3 separate regions of the Homo sapiens genome follow, and all the other regions are linked to region 2. The links are contacts of gene promoters, found by promoter capture Hi-C in human tissues and cell types (Jung and others, 2019). All regions are on one chromosome and are shown on one strand. Each heading gives the region's core, a stretch centred on a gene start or on the middle of the fragment in contact. The rest is flanking DNA. Distances are from core to core; before and after follow the strand shown.

Region 1 (4,719 bases), core at 1,295-3,794, 1.1 Mb after region 2:
AAAAATACAAAAATTAGCTGGGCATGGTGGCACATGCCTGTAATCCCAGCTACTCAGGAGGCTGAGGTACAGGAATCGCTTGAACCCGGGAGGCAGAGTTGCAGTGAGCCAAGATCATGCCACTGAACTCCAGCCTGGGCCTCAGAGAGAGACTCTGTTTCAAAAAATGAATCTATATAAATAAAATATTCATCGAACTGAATCCCTGTATAAATAAGTAAATTAGAAATTATTAGTTCCTAAAATTTGATTGTCAATGTTCAAAGTACCTTCTTAAAATAAATTCTCTATAGATCCAAATAAAAATTAAGCAGTTATTTCTGGTCACTCTTTCTTTTTTTTCCCATTATTGTTTACATGAGCTTATAATGTTACAAATAATCATTATTATTCATAAATATGTCCTTTACTATCAGATCAAGTGGAAATAAGAAAAACTCTATTATATTAAACTCCTACAATTTTCTCTGAAATCTGTGAAGAAAATAAAAGAGATATGATCAATATCCAATGTCTCATAGTCTAAATATCTTCGAAGTCTAGAAATGCTATATTATGAGATGGCAACTAGAAAAAAATTACCTCTGATGTCTCTTATCAAAGTAAAATCCTTTTCAGTATAGGTTTTTTGAGAACTGATGTGTTTTAACTATTTTGAAATGCTTATTTTGCTGTTTAAAGCATATTAGTTCTTTCAAAATAGTAATGAAATATAGGAAGTGTTTACCAAACCTTTCAATTAAATACAGAGGAGCTCTCCTTTTGAAAACATTTCTTGTCAAGTTATATATTTTTACAACTAATGAATTCTTAGATTAAGATTTTCAAAAAATAGCTATGCCTCTTTTGATGAGTTTAATAACATCATGGAGCAATATCTTTCTTACTATTTAAAAAAAAAAATCTAAGATGGTAAAATAGCATGTTTTAATTTTTTTTCTTTAATGAAGGCCACAAAACTTGTAGATTATTGTTAACATTTGATTTCTAAAAGATATAGTATGTACAGTCATATTACCTATGTTTAGACTTTTAATTTAAAGAAGAGTTATTGAGGGGCTTCTTTTTTTATAACAAATCCACTGTGAGTCCATACAATGTTTCCTTGCTGTTTTCATTTAATCACAGATGCAGTGCACATCAAAATTTCCCAGTAAGTACTGACTTAGTAGATTTCCTGCCAGATACAGGTGTGTAGTCAATCTTGTGGATGAAAGCGTGTGCTAACTCAAAGAGCCAAGTAAGTGTACCTTCCAACCAAAGTGAGGGGCTTTTAATGAATTCATTCCTAGAACTGATGTCTCTGCTGCCCTCCACTGCCTGGGGGATCCCTGCCCTGTTGGAATCAATTGAATTGTCACACATCAGAGGGGAACCTATGGGGCCTAAAGGGCATCTTGGTCAGAGCTCCACCTATCAGCCTAAAATGAGACTTCTAGAGAAAACGCTTTTAACCATCCAAAAGTATACATTTAGAACGACTTTAGGGCACAGAGATGTTAAATGTTTTGATGGGTCGTGTGTACATTTTGGAAGCCCCTCCCCAATTGAACCACGGGCAGGATTAAAAATACCCTGAGCTCCTATTGTGTTTCTGGGCTCTGTGCTGAGAGACTGTGCTGCTCAAGGAAATTAAATTTTGAAAGTTTGACAGCTATAAGGCTAGCTGGAAAAATTTCAGACTGTGCTTCAATAAAGCAACAATGGGATCCATGGGATCATAGAGAAAGTCATCCTGACTACAGGAAAACTGGGGATGTACTGAGGGCCCTGGGCCTGGCCTGGGGCTGGTTCTGGAGGAGGGTGTGATGGATGAGTACCTCCAGGAACCGGCAGAGCCCCACAGATGGCACAGCATGGGGCCTGTTCAGACACTGGAGTGTGAGTCAGAGTAAGACAGAGATAAGACAGAGAAGGATGGATTGGAGCCACATTGCAGAAGCCCTTAATTTGTCATTCTGAGGAGTTTAACTTAGTGAAAAATGATAGGACACCTAGTTTACTCTGCAGAAAAGACAGAATAAAATAAGACAGAATGGAGTAAATAAAACTAATGCCTGAACCCTTTCGATGGGTCAGACTCTATGCAAGGCATCTCACATAGAGCATTTATTTTATCCTCACAAAAATCCAGTGACATAGGAACACATTTTATTGACAAGAATTCTGAGGCTCATATTCAATATCATATCTGGGGCAGAGACCGCTAGCTACATGTTCCCATATTTATCGCCAACCTTTTCTCCCTGCTCATCTCTGTGGCAGAGCCTTCAGAAACTAAAAATTCTCTGCCTCAGCCTCCCTTGCAGGCTAGAAGTGTCCCAGTGACATAATTCTAGCTGGTGAACTATCAGGGGAAGTCTGTTAGGAAGCTTTTTGAAAAGTTTAGAATTGCTTATTAAAAGACAATGAAGCCCGGGTCCCCGGCAATGCCCCCACTCTGTATTCCTACCTGCAATATGGAGGTAGTGATACCAGCTGGGAAAACCTCGGCATGCCACAGTAGCCCCTGACTGCACTGCCAGAAAGGTTGTCCCTGAGGTCATGGAGCAGAAGGAGTCACACATCAAACTAAGGTGTTGAACCTCAGAGACTTGAGTCCGTCTAAAGCCTACAGTGAGAAGCAAGGAGAAAGAGAAGGGAGGAGGGAGAAAGACTCACTGAGTCCTATGTTATGACACTTGCTCACCCAGCCCCCTCTCCACCACAGCAGGCTTCTTGCTGAACCAGTGTGTCAAGCACCAGAGCTGATGGTGAGCCACGGGTGTCCACAGGCAGACAGTGCCTGAAGCCAACACATGCTGCTCTGCTGCAGTGACGCCGTGGCCCCCCTCATCACAATATCACTCCCCAACCACCTGAAGAGCAGGCAAGCCTCACATATGCATGCCTTTGGCAGAAAACATGTGAGGCCATATGGGTGTCACCCTGGGGAGGCTGATGTAGAAGGGCATAGCTTTCAAACCACAGGTGACATCATCTGAACCTTGTGCATATTTAAGGTTTATGTGGCCTTTCTATTGCTATCTGTAGATATTAGTCTTCTTTGTTCTGTCTCAACACATAAATATCCCCTTTATCCTATATCTGATGTGTCTTATGGGTTACTAATTTATAATCTATACGTCTTATGATCTTCCTATGACTCACAAGCCATAAGTTGTATATACTTAATACAACTTATGAGTTACATCATCCATTTTCCTTTCTTGTCCTCTAGCAAAAAATTAAATATACACAAATAACACAGCACACATGCTTTAAAGATACCCCCAAAGAAGACACATTTCCATTAACCATGTAGCTAGAAGACTAAAGAGCAAATAAAAACCTGTAAGGATGGAGTGGCAAGACAGAGACTGTGTCTTCATGGAAGCACTGCAGTTGAGCCAGAGCCAGGAACTGCCCTCCCCAACACTTCTTGCAATGTGCAGAGCTTAAGCACCTATTGAGTAAACCATTATTCACTGAAATTTCTTTCATGTGTACCCAAATGCCTCCTGTCACCATTCATTCAACAAGAATTTATTGAGGACCAGTTGTATACCAGACGCTTACTTTAGGAACTAGAGATATAAGAGTAAAAGTAATCTCTGTTGCTGCGAGACTTACTTTCTAGTGAAAAGAGAAAGAATATTTCTTAAAATATTAACTTTTGAATTTCTGTACGTAGCCATGATGGGGTAACTGGTACTAAATTTGCCCTGCTCCTGTAGTCAACTAGAAAACTCAAGATTCTTGCAGAAGGCAGGCGAGGTGATAAGATATGGAGGGTGGGGAATGAAGAATTTGATTTTATATTGAGGTCAGGGAGTTTTCTAAACTGACTCAGCAGGGTTTTTGCTAAAACTGGGCCAAGTAGGCCACGAACAGAGTCCAAGGTCAGGGTTTTAAGGACTTAAAGGAGTTTCACTAAAGCTAGGTCAAGGAGAGCATCTTTGTTAACTCCCAGGGAAAGAATAACTATAGGATGACATAAGTTGAAAAATCACCAGAGCCCACACAGGGCTGGAAGATGCAGTTCCAGGCAACAAGAGAGGACTCCGTTGAATAGCCACAGCATTCAATAGAGACCCCAGGAGGGTCTTAGCAGTAAGCATCAACTAGTGCTAGACAAATCTGTTCTAAACTCACCCAAACAAAGTTAAAGTCAATTTTTAAAAATATCAAGCCATTTGGCATGTAAATAACTGCCTACGGGAACAAATTGCGACACTCATTAAAGGAAAACAATATAATCTTGACACTTAATGATTTAATATTTACAATATTCAGCAACCAATCAAATATTAGTGTATATGCAAAGATGCAGAAAAATGTGACCCATTATTATCTGAAAAAATGTGAATAGACATGGTTTAGAAATGTCCAGAAACGACAGAAGTGATTAAATTTGCAGATAGTTTAAAACAGTCGTTATAAATATGTTCAAGCATTTAAATGAAAACATGAGCACAATGAGAAAAGAAATAAAAAATATAAAAAGAATCAGATGGATCTTTTAAAGCCAAAAATTGTAGTGTCTAAATGTAAAAATTTATTAAATGGGTTGAACAAGATATTTGATAGAATGTTTAGTAAATTTATAGGCAATGAAACTTTCTTTTTCAGTAAAAACATTCTTTATTTGTAAGCAGACATTTCAAACTTTTTGATTACATACATCATGCAGAATGACTGACCTCACACATGGTTGTCTAACTGTTCATTGTGACATCT
Region 2 (4,842 bases), core at 260-2,759:
AGCTTCAACTTCCAAAAGCATTGGGATTACCGGCATGAGCCATCACTCCAGCCCCTTAGGGCTTATATACCATAGGGGAGGGGTGGTTCAGAAGGGATGTGTAGGACAATTGAAGTATAATAACATCAAGTTGTTTGAATTAAGGACAGAACATACTGGGTAGATACCTGCTCTTACACAAGGAACAATAGATAAAGTAGAAATCTTAGAGGCCTTCCCAGAACTGGGGTCAATCAGAAGTCAACACGGAGGATTAGCTTCCAAGATGGAGCTGCTTTCGCCTCCACATCCAGCAATTCCACTCTTAGATTCCAATTCCACTCAACAGAAATGGAAACATAGGTCCATAAAAAAACTGTACATGACTGTGTACAGCAGCCTTATTCACAATAGCCAAAATGTGGAAACAACTGAAATGTCCATCAACTGATGAATGGATAAACAAAATGCAACAGAATATGCTCCAGCAATCTAAAGGAACGAAGTACTGTACAGATACATGCTACAACATAGATGAACCTTGAAAGCATTACGCTAAATGAAAGAAGCCAGACACAAAAGGCCACATATTGTATGGCTCCATTTATATGAAATATCCAGAATAGGCAAACCCATAGAGACAGGAAATTGATTATTGTTTGCTAGGGCTGGGGTTTGGAGGGTAGAGTTAGGAAGAGTGACAGCTAGAGGGTATGGGTTTCTTTTACATGTGATGAAAATGTTCTCAAATTGTGGTGATTGTTGAACATATCTGGAAATATACTAAAAATCGCTGAATGGTATACTTTAAATGGTTGACTTGTTTGGTATGTGAGTTATATCCCAATAAAGCTGTTATATAAAAAAAAATCATGCGAGCAATTATCTCAACAATCAAGAGACTGTGTTAAAGATTCTTTGCTTGGCCAAACTTCAGTTAGGCTTCTGAATCTTCTCCCAGGTCCTTGTGTGCACTTCCTTGTAAATGCAGTGTTAGGAAGTAACACTGCCACGGCAGTTTAGCAAGAATCCCCCACCCTCCATATGTGATCAAAATTCTTTACTCCTACCCTTAGTATCTGACCCCCTGGCCTGCCTTCACTGGGACTCCTGTTAGGTTGGTTCAGCCAGAATTTCCCCCAGAATTGATGTTTCCTCTTAGCAGTTTTCCGAACACCTGCTCCTTGCTCCTTGGCTATAAATCTCCACTTATTCCTGGTGTATTTGGAATAGTTACGACTGAGTTGCCTTCACCCCTTTAACTTCCGTCTTTTTTTTTTTTTCACAATGGAGGACACAAAACGTTGTTATTTCAAGTCTTTGTGGCCAACAGATTGGTGGTTTATGGGCCAGCATCCCTTTTTATGCGTAAAATATTTAAAACGCAGCCTGCAATGGTTGGTAAAGTGGTGAAACGTTTAGTGTGTGAGGTCGGATCCTGGTCTGGCCGCTGGCCCTGGCGATCCTCTGAGGCGGCCTGAGTTTGGGGCGCCTCGTGTCACCGCGCGCCCCTCCTCCGGGCCTGAGTCACGGTGCCGCCGGAGTCCCCACGCGAGGATGCTGCGGTGAGCGCGGCCGGGACGCCGCGTCGGGCTCTCGGCCGCCCAGCGGCGCCGCAGGGGAAGCCAGGCCGGCAGCCGCGCGCTCCCCAGCCGGCCACCAATCCCGCCCTCCCCGGCTCCTCCGGACCTCCTCGGCAGGCGGCGGCGGGGCCTGCCTGTGCGCTCTGCGCCCGCCCGCGCCTACCCTCCATGGCGTTTATCCGGAAGAAGCAGCAGGAGCAGCAGCTGCAGCTCTACTCCAAGGAGAGGTGCGCGCCCAGCTGAAGAAGGGCCCAGCCGGGGGCCTAGTCGGGGCCGGTCGTGGGGACGCCGGCCGGAGATCTGAGGGACGGGAGGCGGCGTGGGGGCCGGGCACGGAGGCAGGGGCCGGACGCGTGTCCAGGGCCTGGGCTGGGGGCTGTGGCGGAAACCTGAGGTCGGGGTGAGAGGCCGGGGGCCTGGTCTGGGCCGGAGCCTGCCGGGGACAGGAACTGGATGACGGGCCAGGCCAGATTCCACCGCGGAGCCGAGGCATGCCGAGCTATCCGGCAGTGCAGGTCCCGGCGGCCGCGGGCAGCTCACCCGGAAGGCCGCGCGGGGTCCGGGCGTGGATCCCGGCACGCGAGCCCGGGCGTTCGCAGGGGAGGGTGAGTACGCTGCCCGGCGGGCACCCCCTTTCTAATCCTTCCCCTTAATCGGGTCCAGGCACTCGGCGCCGGCGCCGCAGAGTTGGTCGCCGGGCGGCACCGAGCAGGCCGGCGACCACCCACTCGCATTGCCGCGCCTTTTTCCTGCCGACTCCTTTAGACACAGGACTAGCTCCATGCCCTGGAAGGCTGGGAGGGGGGCCGCCGGAAAGGCCTGATTCTGAGGAAAGCCAAGGTCCTGCCTCCCAAACACTTGCTCCCCGCGCAGTGGACCTTGTGTTGGAAAGCTTTGCAGTCGAAATCGCGGTGCGGCAGCGGAGCACTCATTCTCACCAGCATCCCAGTAAGGATTTGGGATCCCTTGAGCTAAAATGGTCTCACAGCAGTTCCCTTTCAGATATGCTGGACCTGTCCCCAAGGGAAGTCTCATAAGAAAGCTCACTTCGGCTCTATGTATAGTTCCCAGGGCATTTTTGGTGACAGAAACAACTTGCTCGGTCTGCAGCTCAGATGCCAAAAGGAAAGGGGGGCTGAATCATTTTACAGACACACTGTTTTGATTGTGAGAGCCACAGATCTTCCAGTGCTGCTAGCCTGTCACGTTGTCTCATCAGTGAATACCAGCAAAGCAGGTTACACGTGGGAATACAAGTGCAGACTTCAAGATTTGTCTACACTTGTTTTATAAGGGTTGACTCGACCCCTTTGATCCAGACATTCATCTTTCTCTAATCTGTAATGTTGGTCTAACCAGTGTGTCCACAGTACGAAATGTCATTTTTCTACTGTAGAGAAGAAGATACGATACACAGAAAACGTATCTCAGATATGGCTTTCAAAAATGTTTTTGGTGATGTGATTAGGTTTTAGTCACAGAAAGGGTTGTTTATTAAATAACTGAGCCCTAACTATGTAACTCACACTTGGGGATGCCCTTCTGACTGAATTTGTAATGCATTTTTCTTGTGGAAAGAGCTTGAGTGGAGATTCTTTGTTTAGTACCAACAATATTAAGACTTGTTGGTGCTCTGTATTGAGTGGGTGAACATTCATATTTAAATTGTGAGAACTTTGACACACTTGAATTGGCATCATGTTGTATGATATGAGTCATTCGTGCCAATACTCATATTGGCCTTTTTGATATACAGGGAAACGTTTTTTCCTTGGTTCTGGCTGTTATTTCGATGAAGTAATTTGTGTTCAATTTGGCTAGCTCATACAGCTCCGTGGTGTCACACAAACCTTGAAACCTGTACTTGCATTTCCATGTATATGCTGCTTTGTTAGAATTCATTGATTAGACAACAACGTGATAGGCTGGCAGTGTTCAGAGAGAACTCTAGCTCTTGGCAACCAAAACATTTATCTATCCAGTCAGGAGGCATCAACTGTTCCTGAGCATCAGTCATCTGAAAAAGTTGGCGCCATGTGTTTTATATTTATTTGAATTATAACTTGCTGAGTGCCCAAATTGTTTAGTGCTCTGCCCCATGGCTTTGCAACCTGGGCTGATGGGCATACTCCATTCAATGCATAGAATATGCATTTGAATGACAGGAATCTGTCTCACATCAGGTATGCACTGGAATCAAGGAGTCTCTTTTATAAATCTTAGAATTCATTCTGAAACAGAGGAATATTTTAAGGCAACTTTATTAAGCCCCAAATTTACCATTTCTGCCCAGATTTTTCCGGGTTTATCCCCTTGCATCAATAAACACAAATTAGCAAATGGATTGGATTCGTCATTGGCTCCAGCATACCCAGGAAAATTGTTACTTTTCTTGGAAAACTTGAAGAGGGGTTGTTTCAGAGGTTACCCATGAGAGGCCTCAACCTGTTCATTGTAAGTTCACTGGCGGCTCTCATGCTAATTAAGGGATTTTAGATTTCCAGAGCTACCAAATATTGACCCCAGAAAAGAAACTTGAAATGAGCATTTATTTCTCTTATTGTTAGGTTGATGTACTTTGATATTCCTGCAAAAGCAGAAGCATAGAGACTGACTAGGAGATTCTTGCATTGGTGGTTTAAACCAAGGTGGTGGCAGAATAAATGGAGGAAAGTGGATGGATTCTAGATGTTTTTAGGACGTGTGATTGACAGGTCTTGGTGTGGTGTATTGTCTGTGAGAGGTGATAAAGGAAGAATTCCAGCTAGGATTATCTGATAAAATACAGCACACCCAGTTAAGTTCGAATTTCAGATAAACAATGAATAATTTTTTAGTATAAGTAATTGCGATAGTATATGCAATATTTGGTATGTACTTATACTAAAATTTTTTTAGTATAAGTAAATGCAATAGTATATGCAATATTTGGTATATACTTATACTAATTTTTTTTATTTTTATTTTTTTGAGACAGAGTCTCGCTCTGTTGCCCAGGCTGGAGTGCAGTGGCGTGATCTTGGCTCACTGCAAGCTCCGCCTCCTGGGTTCACGCCATTCTCCTGCCTCAGCCTCCCAAGTAGCTGGGACTACAGGCGCCTGTCACCACGCCCGGCTAATTTTTTGTATTTTTAGTAGAGACAGGGTTTCACCGTGTTAGCCAGGATGGTCTCGATCTCCTGACCTCGTGATCCACCCACCCGCCTTGGCCTCCCAAAGTGCTGGGATTACAGGCGTGAGCCACCGTGCCCGGCCCTTATACTAAAATTTTTAAAAGTAT
Region 3 (4,358 bases), core at 723-3,222, 1.3 Mb before region 2:
TCTCCAGCACCCAGATTTTTGTTTTCATATGCCATTTTTCAATTAAATGAGCCAGTGCTCCTTGGTGAAATAGTTGATTTTAGGATTGAGGAGGGCAAAATATAAAATGAGACTAGCTGGGCGCTGGCTCCCACATGTAATCTAACCTATTTGGGATGCTGAGGAGGGAAGATCGCTACAGCCCAGGAGTTCAAGGCTGCAGTGATCTGTGATCACACCACTCTAGCTTGGGCAGCAAGCAAGATCCTGTCCCTTTGAAAAAAGAAAAAGAAAAAGAGGGTTACTGAAGGTTGTGCTAAAAAACAAAACCAAACAGAAATAATAGTGGCATGTTAAAAGGATGTAGCAGCCTATCTAACTGCTGGAGCAATTTGAGTAATAAATAAGTAATGATAATATTGGATTGCAACCCCTAAAATAAGTATTCATAAATTCATACTGATATAAATAAATAGAGTTTAGTTTTCATCTCCTTGAGGGTTGTCAGGATTTATTGACTTGCTTTTAAATAATAGAGTTTGAGAAGAGAAAAATAATAACTTTACAGTGAGGAAACCTAAGTGACACCACATTAACCAAGTGATTAAGGTTAATACTAGCCATCTAAAATTTAGGTAATAGTATTGTACCAATTTACTGCAGTTATGTAAAATATTAACAATAGGGACACCAAATGAATATTTTGTAGGAACCCTCTGTTCTACCTTTGCAACTTTTCTAAAAATGTAAATTTATTCACAAATAACGTTCTTTAAGAACAAAATGTTCTGCAATTATTGGTTGCAGTATCTTATGTATGTCTTTTATGTTAATTTATTTGCAAGGTAATTATAATCTAATTCTTTGATGTGTGTTTTGAAATTTAGAAAGCTTGCATTGTAGTAATAATTCTATTGGACAAATATATGTGCACCTGTAATGTGACTTCAAACTACATAAAATAAAAATGGACAGAACTACATAGAGAAATAGAGAAATCCATAACCACACTGGGAGATATTTTTGTTAACCTTTCTATATGTTTATATTATACATACTTTCCTTCTTACCAGCATACAGTTGGGCCTGAAAAACATATTTTTTAAAAATGGAAACACTTAGTCAATAGTATAAATTACTGACACATTGGGATTTAAATTCACTGTCTTTTGTCCTTACTCCAGCTTTTGTATGTTCTCCTTTTCTCTTTGTGTCATTCTTTGAATTATTATTTTTATTATTTTCATCCTTATTAGCTAGTTGATTTTATAGATTTTTCCTCTTCTTTTAGTGGTTTTCCTAAAAAATTACGTCATGAATTCCTTGCATACAAGAGTCCTTGGTACTTTTATCCTTTTCTCAGAAAATGTACAAATCTTAAAACACTTTAACTCTATTTATCCTCTTCTTAGCTTATATGGTATATTTGTTATTTTGTTATTTTTGTCTTTATATATATATAAATGTTTTCTTAACAAATACACATACACGTGTGTGTGTGTGTATGTGTGTGTGTATGTGTGTATATGCGTGTGTGTGTTTTAGAGATGAGGTCTCACTCTGTTGCCCAGGATGGAATGCAGTGGCACAATCATAGATCACTGCAGCCTCAAACTCCTGGGATCAAGGGATTCTCCTGCTTCAGCTTCCTGAGTAGCTAGGAATACAGACATGTGCAATGACACCCAGCTTAATTTTTAAAACATTTTTTTGCAGAGTAAAGGTCTCACTAGGTTGCCACACACATATTTTTAAACACTATTATACTCTTAAAATGTTTTAGAAGCAAATTTCATTCAAATCTTTACACATGTTTATCATTTTTATTGCTCATCCTTCCTTCACCAATTCCTGAACTCCCATCGGGTTTCATTTCCCTTCTGCCTGAAAAACACCTTTTTGTATTTCTTTCAGTGCTGGTCTGCTGGAGCTAAATTTTCTGTTTTTCTTTGTTAGAAAATGTCTTTGTTGTACCCTCACTTTTGAAAAATGCATTCTTTGAGTATAGCATTCTCAGTTGGCAGTTATTTTTTTTCCATGCTTTGAAGATATTAATCCTGTGTTTTCTGGCTTCTATTGCTTCTGTTGAAAAATCTCCTGCAGTCTGATTCTTGGTCTTTTCAGATTCATCTTTTTTTGTCCCTTATGTGGTTGTAAGATTTTCTCTGTTTTTAACATTTTCAAATGATATGCCTATTAAAAAAATTTATCCTGCTTGTGGCTCAGAATGCTTTTTGAATATTTCCTTTGGTTACCACTTTAGGACAATTCTCAACCACTATCTTTTCAAATATTACTACAGCTCCATTTTGATTTCCTTCTGGGAAAGCAAATTACATGTATGTTAAATACCCTTGGTCTCTTTCTCCTCTATTGTTTATTTTTTCCTACACAAGTTTTCTATCTGTTTTGTTCAGAGTATTTTTTCTGCCTGCTTTCTAGTTCAATAATATTCTTTCCAGTTCTGTTTAATATGCTGCTAAATTTATCCAGTGGATTTTTAATTTTGGACATTATATTTTTCAGGTCTAAAATTTTCTTATTTCATTTTACAGTTTGTAGTGTTCTGTTGAAATTCTCAATCTTGGATTTTATTTTCTTAAACATATTAAGCATAGTTATTTAATGTCTCATGTCTGCTAATTATTTTGTGGGCTCTTTGTGTATCTATTTTATTTTCTGCTTATTTTCCTTTTTAAATTCATGTGGAATTATCTCCTTTTGTTCATGGTTCTTTGATTAAATGCTGGATATTATGTGTAGAAATATTTTTAACAATTTTGCTGATGATATCTTTATAATACATAATATATGTTACATTATATATAATTAAATATATAAAATAAGTATAAATTCTTCAGGGAGGATGTATACTTGTTTCCAGAAGTAAGTAGAGGCACTAGCAATCTGGATAATCTAATCCGGTTCTGGATTTGCTTTATTCTTATGGTGTAGCTGGTGTTTGTTGTTCAAACTCTAATTATGTGCAGTTTACCAGGGTTGCTCCTTCTTGTTTAGACATAGACTCTAATACTTGTGCCCCTAGACAATCAAAGCTGTTGAAAGTGCTTTTCAGCTCCTCAGGCTCTCATATGTCTCTTCCTGAATTGGAAGACATCCTTGGGATACATGCCAGGCTCAATTTTCTGGGGATTCTTCTTTTCCTGGATCATATGCCCTAATTCTTCACTACCTTGTTAATTCCATCTTGCTTTCAAAAAGCTTTCATGAATATTTTTTCCAGATTTCGTGGTTTGTTCTTAATGAAGGAATTGTCTAGTCCACTTTAACTTGAAATAAGTTAGTTACTGCTTTATTTTCTTAGTCTGGTAGAAAGCAAAGTTATCAGTTGTGCATGAAGATGAGAAAGGAAATGTCAGCAGTTTAAGGAGCAAGAAAACATGTGAAAAAGTCAACTATTACCATAGTGAGAGGTTAAATGAACTTAATGATAACGTAATACTATAGCATTATAGTATCAGATTATATTTTACTTGGTATTATTAACAGCACGCTTGGGGTTTTTAGTCATTAATTCAAAATGGTACTGGACAGTGTGGTTGGGCTTTCCTTTTGCTATGTTCTTTCGTTATACAGGTGCAGAAGGCAGAGATTATTGCTTTTATCTATGTCTTTGGCTTTGAAATGACTACATTGTCTGAGGTATATACCCTGGGGTTTGTTGTTGCGTGCCAGGAATATTTAGGACACAGACACACACAAGGAGTTTAGGAGCAGAGGTTTAATAGTAGAAGAGAAGAGAAAGAGAAACAGCTTTCTCTATAAAGTGGTCTCTCAGCAAAAAGATGGACAGGGGGCTCATGCGCCCAATATTATAGTCAGGTTTGAAGAGGTGGTGTCTGATTTACATAGGGTTCACAGATTGGTTTGATCAGGTATGACTTTTACATAGCGCAAGGGGAAGGCTGTTCACCCCACCCTAATGGGCTTTCCAGTTGATTGGGGGCCATCTTGTCTGCTTCTTACTGTACACGTGGCTGACATGGAAAAGAGAAGATGGAGCCACCATCTTGAACATGTCTAGTCCTTAGTTCCTGCCAGCATTCACCCGTGCAAGCTCCCCGCTTGCTTGTCTGTGTCTTCAGCTCAACTTTACCGGCTTCTCTTTGTTAGAAAATGATTTGGGCCTGCTTTTCATAAAAGTAAAAGCCTTACAGAGGACTCCCATACCCTTACTATCTGCCTAAGTGATTTCTTCGTAACTCCTGTATCAGTTTTGTCTAACAAACCCAACGAAGACTTTGAGGGGCAAATAAATCCAGTTAATCAGGGAAGAGAGGTGATCATGGAGGTGAAAGAGAGTGAAAGCTGATGAGATCAATGAATTGAAAGTCTCAATGGGATAGAAAGATGATTGG

The links. The method cuts DNA at HindIII sites, captures the fragments that hold promoters and counts their contacts. A contact is called where the count stands out against the background at its distance.
Region 1: a fragment that was not itself captured here is called in contact with the fragment with the promoter of NSMAF in region 2 in 1 of the 25 tissues and cell types used here (dorsolateral prefrontal cortex).
Region 3: a contact is called between a fragment that was not itself captured here and the fragment with the promoter of NSMAF in region 2, in 1 of the 25 tissues and cell types used here (lymphoblastoid cells).

What each region holds. Positions count from the first base shown.
Region 1 is chr8:57,558,450-57,563,168 of GRCh38, reverse strand. No RefSeq gene overlaps it. Among named protein-coding and RNA genes, the nearest start is that of LINC03018, 190 kb to the left of the region's middle. The HindIII fragment of the contact is 5,602 bases long and covers 1-4,719 here.
Region 2 is chr8:58,656,520-58,661,361 of GRCh38, reverse strand. It overlaps NSMAF (neutral sphingomyelinase activation associated factor), which reads left to right and starts at 1,509. Exons shown (of 31, transcript NM_003580.4): 1 at 1,509-1,789. The coding sequence starts at 1,731. RefSeq lists silencers at 1,432-1,771, 1,782-2,231 and enhancers at 1,943-2,505, 2,682-2,971, 2,506-3,069. The HindIII fragment of the contact is 8,969 bases long and covers 1-4,842 here.
Region 3 is chr8:59,976,478-59,980,835 of GRCh38, reverse strand. No RefSeq gene overlaps it. Among named protein-coding and RNA genes, the nearest start is that of CA8, 300 kb to the left of the region's middle. The HindIII fragment of the contact is 4,455 bases long and covers 1-4,199 here.